Regions from separate parts of the Homo sapiens genome. Here region 1 is linked to region 2. The links are contacts of gene promoters, found by promoter capture Hi-C in human tissues and cell types (Jung and others, 2019). All regions are on one chromosome and are shown on one strand. Each heading gives the region's core, a stretch centred on a gene start or on the middle of the fragment in contact. The rest is flanking DNA. Distances are from core to core; before and after follow the strand shown.

Evidence for each region. Contacts are between HindIII fragments. The study calls those that stand out against the background at their distance.
Region 1: a contact is called between the fragment with the promoter of TMEM202 here and the fragment with the promoter of HIGD2B in region 2, in 1 of the 25 tissues and cell types used here (IMR-90 fibroblasts).

What each region holds. Positions count from the first base shown.
Region 1 is chr15:72,394,390-72,399,670 of GRCh38, reverse strand. TMEM202 (transmembrane protein 202) reads right to left here and starts at 1,366. Exons shown (of 5, transcript NM_001080462.3): 1 at 1,264-1,366; 2 at 763-1,018. The coding sequence starts at 1,344. The HindIII fragment of the contact is 13,856 bases long and covers 1-5,281 here.
Region 2 is chr15:72,684,747-72,690,151 of GRCh38, reverse strand. HIGD2B (HIG1 hypoxia inducible domain family member 2B) reads left to right here and starts at 3,970. Exons shown (of 3, transcript NM_001350932.3): 1 at 3,970-4,334. BBS4 (Bardet-Biedl syndrome 4) reads right to left here and starts at 3,945. Exons shown (of 16, transcript NM_033028.5): 1 at 3,901-3,945. The coding sequence starts at 3,924. The HindIII fragment of the contact is 21,731 bases long and covers 1-5,405 here.

The sequences.
Region 1 (5,281 bases), core at 117-2,616, 290 kb after region 2:
CATTATCTTCATAGCTGGCATTTGTTATACCACATATCTAACGTACATTTAAGTTCTATTCCACTGCTAGGAGAAGAACAAGCTGACCTTGAAAGTTAAATCTAATAGAGGTTAAGATATTTGCTTTATCTTCCAGCTATGATCAATCACTTCTCTTCTAATTCTGCAAGCCACATTAGAATACCAATCACATTGCTTAGCAGTAACACCTTGTAAATGAGTTATTCCTAGGGCAGGCATGGTGGCTTACACCTATAGTCCTGGTACTTTGGGAGGATCACTTGAGGCCAGGACTTTGAGACCAGCCTGGGAAATATAATGAGAACTTGTCTCTACAAAAGAAAAAAAAATTTAAAAAAATTAAAAATTAGCCAGGAGTGTTGGCACACATCTGTAGTTCCACCTACTCAGGAGGTTGAACAGGAAGATTGCTTGAGTCCTGGAGGTGGAGGCTGCAGTGAGCAATGATAGTGCTTTTGCACTTCGGCTAGGCGTTAGAGCAAGAGCCTGTCTCGAAAAACCAACCAACAAACAAAAACAGTTCTTCCCATAAAGAGAGTATAACCCATTATTTAGGACAGGAAACAACCTGGAATAGGAGAGAGAAAGGGCACACTGAGGATACCAAAGAAAGATCCATCCTGCACTTGGAGAGGTGAAGGCCAAAAGATCTTGGAGGAAGAAACATGAAGGGCCAATTTGTGTGAGCAGAAAGCTCTGCAATTGTGTGGGGCCTGTGGCATTTAATTCGGTGGCACTCACAGGGTGGCTTGGGTGTGTGGCTCCAGCACAGCTCATGGTTGCATAAGGTCCAGAGTCCTGCGTAGAGCTCAAGGCCATTCTTGATCACCAGAAACTGTACCCAGTTCAGTGGGGACATGGCGATCAGCATTAGGAGGCTAAAACTACAGAGGCTGCCACAGAGCGTTCGGATGTAGATGTGTGCCTGATCCATAAGCTGCTGCTGCCTTTGGCATGACATCGAGGCACTTGGATGTTTCTTGGCAGGGACGGTAGGCTACAAGGATGAGGGAAATATTGCCTACCCGAAAGAATAACCCCTGATCCCCAGGGTCACCCGCTCTTCTCTACCTCAAGCATTCCCATGTGTGTTTGATTTATAGATATTTTTCCCTACTCCTAAAAAAAAAAAACCCCACAATTTTCAGGGTGATCTTTTCTGTCTTTAGGATGCTCTGTGTAGCCCTGCCTTTAAGTAAGTTCTCTTCTTCCCATCTGACTTTCAATTAGATACCTCCTCACCCTTTGGTATTTCCGGTTCCCCTTTATTTTGGGAACCTCAGGACTGTGGAAAGTCAAGGTTAAATGTTCCCTTCGCTCCATCTTGGCAGTTAGTTCTCTAACTGCCACGGAATTTGTCTCTGCATCTCCTCACACATGCTGGCAGAAGCAAAAAGGGCCAGGACCCATGGCATAGATCCTGTTTCTGTTTTATATTTTTGATCTGGTCAGATCAGGAAGAAATCACCACATTTTAAGCATGTGCATGTATGTGTGATGCTCCCCACCCTCCATTCTCCACCTACTCCCAACTCTTTTATTAAATAAATCCACAAACATTTTGTTAGCAGTGGCTGTGTGTCAGGCTTTGTGCTAGCTTCTGGGACACAAAAATAAATAAGACACAGTTCCCTCATAGCAAATAAAAAAAGGGGAACTCATATGCTTGTTGGCCACATGTGTTTCTTCTTTTGAAAAGTGTTCATGCCCTTTGCCCACTTTTTAATGGGGTTATTTGTCTTTTTCTTGTAAATTTATTTGAGTTCCTTACAGATGCTGGATATTAGACCTTTGTCAGATGCATAGTTTGCAAAAAAATTTTCCCTTTCTGTAGGTTTTCTGTGTACGCTATTGATAGTTTCTTTTGCTATGCAGAAGCTCTTTAGTTTAATTAGATCCCATTTGTCAATTTTTGCTTTTGTTGCAATTGCTTTTTGCATCTTCATCATGAAATCTTTGCTGGTTTCTATGTTCAGATCATTAGAGAAATTAATCTTTGTATTTTTTTTTTAATTTTTTTATTTTTTTATTGATCATTCTTGGGTGTTTCTCGCAGAGGGGGATTTGGCAGGGTCATAGGACAATAGTGGAGGGAAGGTCAGCAGATAAACAAGTGAACAAAGGTCTCTGGTTTTCCTAGGCAGAGTGTTTGTGTCCCTGGGTACTTGAGATTAGGGAGTGGTGATGACTCTTAACGAACATGCTGCCTTCAAGCGTCTGTTTAACAAAGCACATCTTGCACCGCCCTTAATCCATTTAACCCTGAGTGGACACAGCACATGTTTCAGAGAGCACAGGGTTGGGGGTAAGGTCATAGATCAACAGGATCCCAAGGCAGAAGAATTTTTCTTAGTACAGAACAAAATGAAAAGTCTCCCATGTCTACTTCTTTCTACACAGACACAGCAACCATCCGATTTCTCATTCTTTTTCTCACCTTTCCCCCTTTTCTATTCCACAAAACCGCCATTGTCATCATGGCCCGTTCTCAATGAGCTGTTGGGTACACCTCCCAGACGGGGTGGTGGCCGGGCAGAGGGGCTCCTCACTTCCCAGTAGGGGCGGCCAGGCAGAGGCGCCCCTCACCTCCCGGACGGGGCGGCTGGCCGGGCGGGGGGCTGACCCCCCACCTCCCTCCCGGACGGGGCGGCTGGCCGGACAGAGGGGCTCCTCACTTCCCAGTAGGGGCGGCCGGGCAGAGGCGCCCCTCACCTCCCGGACGGGGCGGCTGGCCGGGCAGGGGGCTGACCCCCCACCTCCCTCCCGGACGGGGCTGCTGGCCGGGCAGAAGGGCTCCTCACTTCCCAGTAGGGGCGGCCGGGCAGAGGTGCCCCTCACCTCCCGGACGGGGCGGCTGGCCGGGTGGGGGGCTGACCCCCCACCTCCCTCCCGGACGGGGCGGCTGGCCTGGCGGGGGCTGACCCCCACCTCCCTCCCGGACAGGGTGGCTGCTGGGCGGAGACGCTCCTCACTTCCCAGACGGGGTGGCAGCAGGGCGGAGGGGCTCCTCACTTCTCAGACGGGGCGGTTGCCAGGCGGGGGGTCTCCTCACTTCTCAGACAGGGCAGCTGGGCAGAGACGCTCCTCACCTCCCAGACAGGGTCGCGGCCAGGCCGAGGCGCTCCTCACATCCCAGACGGGGCAGCAGGGCAGAGGCGCTCCCCACATCTCAGACGATGGGCGGCCGGGCAGAGACGCTCCTCACTTCCTAGATGGGATAGCGGCCGGGAAGAGGCGCTCCTCACTTCCTAGGTGTGATGGCGGCCGGGCAGAGACACTCCTCACTTTCCAGACTGGGCAGCCAGGCAGAGGGGCTCCTCACATCCCGGACGATGGGCGGCCAGGCAGAGACGCTCCTCACTTCCCAGACGGGGTGGCGGCCGGGCAGAGGCTGCAATCTCGGCACTTTGGGAGGCCAAGGCAGGCGGCTGGGAGGTGGAGGTTGTAGCGAGCCGAGATCACGCCACTGCACTCCAGCCTGGGCACCATTGAGCACTGAGTTAACGAGACTCCGTCTGCAATCCCGGCACCTCGGGAGGCCGAGGCTGGCGGATCACTCGCGGTCAGGAGCTGGAGACCAGCCCGGCCATCACAGCGAAACCCCGTCTCCACCAAAAAAATACGAAAACCAGTCAGGCGTGGCGGCGCGCGCCTGCAATTGCAGGCACTCGGCAGGCTGAGGCAGGAGAATCAGGCAGGGAGGTTGCAGTGAGCCGAGATGGCAGCAGCACAGTCCAGCTTCGGCTCGGCATGAGAGGGAGACTGTGGAAAGAGAGGGAGAGGGAGACCGTGGAAAGAGGGGAGAGGGAGAGGGAGACCGTGGAAAGAGGGGAGAGGGAGAGGGAGAGGGAGACCGTGGAAAGAGAGGGAGAGGGAGAGGGAGACCGTGGAAAGAGGGGCAGATCATTAGAGAAATTAAAACCACAATGAGATACCATCTCACACCAGTCAGAATGGCTACTATAAAAAGTCAAAAAAATAACAGACTGTGGCGAGGTTGTGGAGAAAAAGGAACACATACACTGTTGATGGGAGTGTAAATTATTAATTCAAACATTGTGGAAAGCAGTGTGATGATTCCTCAAAGACATGAAGACAGAAAGAACTACCATTTGACCCAGCAATCCCATTTTTGGGTATATGCCCAAAGGGATAGAAATCATTCTATCATAGAGACACATGCACATGTATGTTCACTGAAGCACTATTCACAATAGCAAAGACATGGAATCAACATAAATTCCCACCAATCGTAGACTGGATAAAGAAAATGTGGCACATATCCACCATGGAATACTATGCAGCTATAAAAAGAACAAGATCATGTGCTTTGCAGGAAGATGGGTGGAGCTGGAGGCCATTATCCTTAGCAAACTAATGCAGGAACAGAAAACCAAATACTGCATGTTCCTACTTATCAGTGGGAACATGGACACATAGAGGGGAACAACAGACACTGGGGCCTATCGGAGGGTGGGGGGTGGGAGAAGGGAGAGAGTCAGGACAAATAACGAATAAGTACTAGGCTTAATACCTGGGTGATGAAATCTGTACAACAAACCCCCATGACATGGGTTTACCTATATAACAAATCTGCACATGTACCCCTGAACTTAAAATAAAAATTTAAAAAGGGGGCAACTCAGATGTCTCTAGAACTCTATTGGTTGTGGTTATAATTTAAAATTATATCCCTATCAGTAGCCAGTAGCCTGGAGTTCATGCCAGGTTTGTCTCAATAGGCTCATGAACCAGTCTGTCAGTCATGGTCCTTCATACAGCGTCCATCTTTTTCTCCCTTTTTGGCTCTGGTTCCCTCTTTTCAATGTCCTCTACTCATGAAGCCATTTAAGGGTGCTGCTATACCACTGCCACTGCTGACAGGGCCCACTATGAATATGCCAGTATCTATAGCCCAGAAGACTATAAGCCAATGTGCTAAAAGCCACTGCTCTTCAAGATACCATAGCAGTGCTGGGTTCAAAATGTTCCATATGGCCCCCAAAGGACATGTATCAGCATGCTCACAGCAGCACTCCATAATAGCCCCAAATTCAAAACTACCCAAATGCCCATCAACAGAAGAATGGAAGATTGCAGTCTAGTTATACAATGAAATACTATACAGCAATACGAGTAATCTACAACCACCTGAGCAAAGAGGGATGAATCTTTTCTATATAATGCTGAGCAAAAGAATCCAAACACAAAAGAGTACACATGTATGATTCTATTCATATGAAGTGCAAAACAGGCAAAA
Region 2 (5,405 bases), core at 2,721-5,220:
TACATCAAATAATGGGAATCAGGGCATTATAAAAAAAATTTATAGGCTGGGTACAGTGGCTCGCCTGTAATCCCAGCACTTTGGGAGGCTGAGTCGGGCGGATCACAAGGTCAGGAGATTGAAACCATCCTGGCTAACACGGTGAAACCCCGTCTCTACTAAAAATACAAAAAATTAGCTGGGCGTGGTGGCAGGCGCCTGTAGTCCCAGCTACTCCGGAGGCTCAGGCTGGAGAATGGCGTGAACCCGGGAGGCGGAGGTTGCAGTGAGCCGAGATCGCGCCACTGCGCTCCAGCCTGGGCGACAGAGCAAGACTCCGTCTCAAAATAAATAAATAAATAAATAAATAAATAAATAAATAAATAAATAAAAAGATTTATAAGCACAAATCATGAAAGCCAGAGTTAGTTGCTCATTCATTTTTTGTTTTTTTCAGACAAAGTCTCACTCTGCCCCTGCTGGAGTCCAGTGGCATGATCATGGCTCACTGGAGCCTCAACTTCCCCCAGGCTCAGATGATCCTCCCCAGTAGCTGGGAAGACAGGCGCGTGCCACCACGTCTGGCTAATTTTTGTGTTTTTTGTAGAAATGGGGCTCCAACATGTTGCCCAGACTGGTCTCAAACCTCTGGACTCAAGTTATCCTCTCACCTCAGTTTCCACAAGTCCTGGCATTACAGGCATGAGCCACCAAGTACAGCCTGTTTGCTCATTTTTTAAGAATTCTAAACTATACTGAAAATACAAATATTAGTCCTCAGTTTTCCTTCTAAGGAACTGGTAGCAATCCGTAAGTAATTTTGGTAGCATACTAGAATTTCTGCGTCCCACACTGGGCTAGTTTTACTCAGTTTTGATGGGGTGTCTTCTGGCCTCAAGGCCTTGACTGTAGCCTTCTTAGATTTTTAGCTATACATTTCTTCAAAAATTCTGTGAGTTTTGAGTCTTTTCCTTTTCTCTCCTCCATATCCATATATCCTTATCTACGGATCTATATGTTTTCCTTTGTGTTATGAAATTAAGATCACATAATATACCCCACTTCACATCTACCTTTTATTTAAATGTACACCATGGAAGTCCCTCCAAGTCAATTAGTCGTAACATTCTCTTTTTTTTTTTTTCTTTCTGAGTTTAGGAATGGAGGTTTAATAGGCAGAAGAAAGAAAGGAGAACAGCTTTCTCTAGTGAGAGAGAGGGGCTTCTGAGAGGAAAAGCAATTAGTTGTAACATTCTTTTTAATGACTGCATAATATTCCACAGTATGGAAATATCTGAAGTCATCAATTACCCTATTAATGGGCATTTAATTTGCTTCCAGCGTTTTGCCACTACGGATAGTACTACAACGAATGCCCTAGTACTACACGCTCATGTTTAACACTTTTTTCTGTGGGACACAGGTCTAGGAGTAGGATTACTGGGTTCTTTTAATTGTATTAAAAAATAAGGCAGGGGGCCATGGCTCACGCCTGTAATCCCAACACTTTGGGAGACCGAGGCGTGCAGATCACAAGGTCAGGAGTTCAAGACCAGCCTGGCCAACGTGGTGAAACCCCATCTCCACAAAAATAAGCCAGGCATGGTGGTGAGGGCCTGTAACCCCAGCTACTCGGGAGGCTGAGGCAGAAAAATCACTTGAACCCGGGAGGCAGAGGTTCCACTGAGCTGAGATCACGCCACTGCACTCCAGACAGGGCGACAAAGTGAGACTCCGTCTCAAAAAAAAAAAAAAAAAAAAGATAAAATACCACTTCCTAAAAGGACAGAAATTCACATTTCCATGCATTGGTAACTTGAAAAGATGAAAATTACTATAAACGTAACACTACTAGCAATAAATTTGACAACAATGAAAACAGTTAACTTCAGGCTTAATTGCTAAGTCATATCGAAACAAAAGCTATTCTCTTTAAAACAGTATTAGACATTCAAATGTACATGACAATTCTGCCGTCACAGACTCAAGTTCATATTCTATTACACAAACACTTGTGATGAGCACTAGAGGATAAGCTATATTTGTAGCAATGTTATGTTACCCATTATCTTTTACACTTTAAGATTACTTAGAAGTATTTTCTTTTTTTTTTTTTTTTTTTTTTTGAGACGGAGTCTTGCTCTGTCACCCAGGCTGGAGTGGAAGTATTTTCTTTCCTATGTTTTTAATATTTAAAACCCAGTAACATTAACCATGCTATTTACTTTTTTTTTTTTTCTGAGACGGAGTTTTGCTCTGGATGCCCAGGCTGCAGTGAAATGGCACGATCTCGGCTCACTGCAACCTCTGCCTCCTGGGTTCTAAGCGATTCTCCTGCCTCAGCCTCCCTAGTAGCTGGGATTACCAGCGCCCGCCACCACGTCCAGCTAATTTTTTGTATTTTTTTAGTAGGGACAGGGTTTCACTACGTTGGCCAGGCTGGTCTCGAACTCCTGACCTCAGGCGATCCACCCACCTCAGCCTCCCAAGGTGCTAGGATTACAGGCGTGAGCCACTGAGCCTGGCCTATTTAATTATTTTAAAATCTGTTTTTTCTTTCTTTTTTTTTGAGAAGGAGTCTGTCTCTGTCGCTCATGCTGGAGTGCAATGGCATGATCTCGGCTCACTGCAACCTCCGCCTCCGGGGTTCAAGCGATTCTCCTGCCTCAGCCTTCCAGGTACCTGGGATTACAGGCGAGCGCCACGATGCCCCGCTAATTTTTGTATTTTTAGTAGAGACGGGGTTTCACCATGTTGGCCAGGATGGTCTCAAACTCATGACCTCAAGTGATCCACCCGTCTCGGCCTCCCAAAGTGCTGGGATTACAGGCGTGATGCACCGCGTCCGGCCTAGCTATTTTAAATTTCTTAGCTTAATAAAAATGTTTCGGCCGGGCGTGGTGGCAGGCGCCTGTATTCTCAGCTAATCCGGAGGCTGAGGCAGGAGAATTGCTGGAACCTGGGAGGCGGAGGTTGCAGTGAGCCGAGATCGCGCCATTGCACTCCAGCCCGGGCCGACAACAGCGACACTCCGTCTCAAAAAAAAAAGTTTCTGTCTTCAGAGTTTTCTAATTAGACTAGAATAATATGACTACTCTGCAAATGAGAGTAGAAAACAAACAAAAGGCCCTCTAACAATAACACTAACCTTGCTGCTTAGCCAAAACTAAGTTGTAAAACAGCCAAAGGCTGCTATTTGTACTGTTTTCCAGGGCGTTTTTCGAAAGACAATAAATTCCGAATACCTAAAATCATTCTAACAAATGGACAGAACAGGCTTTCAAACCCAACACTAAAGCAAGGTAAACAAAGCTTCACACTTGGCACTTTACCGAAATTAGATCCAATTATAGATATATGCCTCAAAAAATAGCGACTAGGTCATCCTGAATTCATCGGGTTCCTCTATATTAGCAGTTCTGTGGAGTGAACGCCCAACTCAGCCTTCAGATGAATTCCAAAACCGTACTTTCCTAAACTTAATCACCACAGAAAAAACACAGTCCCGCTCCACTGGCAGAAGGCAGTGACGCTGCAAGCTTCCAGGCATGTTAAATTCCCAATTCACGGGATTAACAGGAACTGTCTACACAAGTGCTAGTCATTACCTTCCAAACCCCCGAGACAGAAAAAGATGGCACTACGGTAAGAGCCATTACTGGTGAAAAGTCTCCCTTCTCCGTCCAGCGCACCCCAAGAGGGACTACAGTCCTAGAACAGGACCTGTGCTGCTAAGTATCCAGACTTGCCCCAGGCGACCAGTTCCCGGGACAGTAAAAAGGGGACCGTGTCGCCCCGCCCACCCTGAGACGCTCGGCACCCAGCTCCGCCTCTCTCCAGGAACCGCTGCATGGGACAAAAGCCACCCGCCAGCTTGCCTTGCCCTGCGGCCGGGCAACTAAAGAGAATCTCGGCGCTCACCGTCGCGACTCTCTCCTCAGCCATTTTAGCTCAGCCCACCGCTGCGCGGCCGGAAGTCGGCGGTTTCCCAGACGACGAGGCAAGCGGAAGTCGTAGGGCTGTGGAGGACTGTGAGGAAGCGGGGGAAGGAAGTAAATCGCCGAGTGACCTAAGGAATCAGGGGGAGGATTAGGGTCTGCTCCACAGAAGGCTTACCTCTGAAAGAGTCGGGGAGGGAATGCGCAGCCACTCGCTGCCTTTATCCCGAGAAGCCCCTAACACCCCTCGCCGTGGTCTGTACATGGTCTGTACCTCCGGCCGCGCTGGCTGGTAGGCCAGCCACCTGGGATGGCAGCCTAGTTCTCCCGCCACCTTACCCTGCCCTGACTCTAATCTGCATTTAATTCAGTCCTTCTTCCGGGAGATTTCGGCGGAGAATTTCTTTCTCGCCTTAGGTACAAAACTCCCCGTTTCTTGGCTGTCACTATCGAACTGAGGTACTCACCTTATCAGCTTCCCACTCTTGTTTACTCCAGAGTTTGCAAACATGCTCCTGGTGGGCTGCATTTGAACGGCAGTCTTTTGATTGGAAATATTTAAAAGTTAGGAGATTTCACAAGAAATCGGCCATGGGATAAAGAGACGACAGTCGGCGTTTTCTGCAAGGCAGTGAAATAGATCTGAATAGCGGCTGCGACTGTAGATAACTTCCCTTCCTAACATACTTAAGGCGTTCTCCATTACCTGTCTGGCCCCCGGTGCGGTGAATTAAATGTTTAGTGTTTCTAAACTAGGAAAACGTGTGGGCTTTGGAATCAAACATGAGTTCTGAATTTGACTACTGCATGACCTAAGCCCGTCGTTTCTTTGAGCCTCATTTATTAAAGTGCCGGGAGCTGTGTGATGAACAAAACGGAGGATCCCTGCACCTGAGCACTGACATTAGCCCCAATTCATACTTTTAAGTCTCGCCCTTGTAATTTAGACATAAAATCTGCCTCTCCCAATTCATTAACTGGGAAAGCATTTAAGACAAGTTTCTCCAGGCCTCTAAGAGAGGGAGAACCCCACTGACAATTAGAGTTACATAGAAGAAACAAGTACGGTAATCTATCCAAATACAAGGGGAAAGGACAGCAATAGAATAACAGCTCTTCTAAGTATTTCAGTAACACTCTCTCTTTTAATCTTTATAACAATCCCATGAGACTGTTGGTCTCCCACTTTTTTCAGATAAATACTCTGCCTTTCATTTATTAAAAATAAAATTTTCCAGCTTGGCCAGCATGGTGAAACCCCGTCTCTACTAAAAATACAAAAAATTAGTCGGGCATGGTGGTGCCCGCCTGTAATCGCAGCTACTCGGGAGGCTGAGTCAGGAGAATCACTTGAACCCAAGCGGCAGAGGTTGCAGTGAGCCGAGATCGCATTTCTGTGCTCCAGCCTGGGCGATAGAGGGAGACTCCGTCTAAAAAACAAAAATTTGCTGGGCTCGGTGGCTCACGCCTGTAATCCCAGGACTTTGT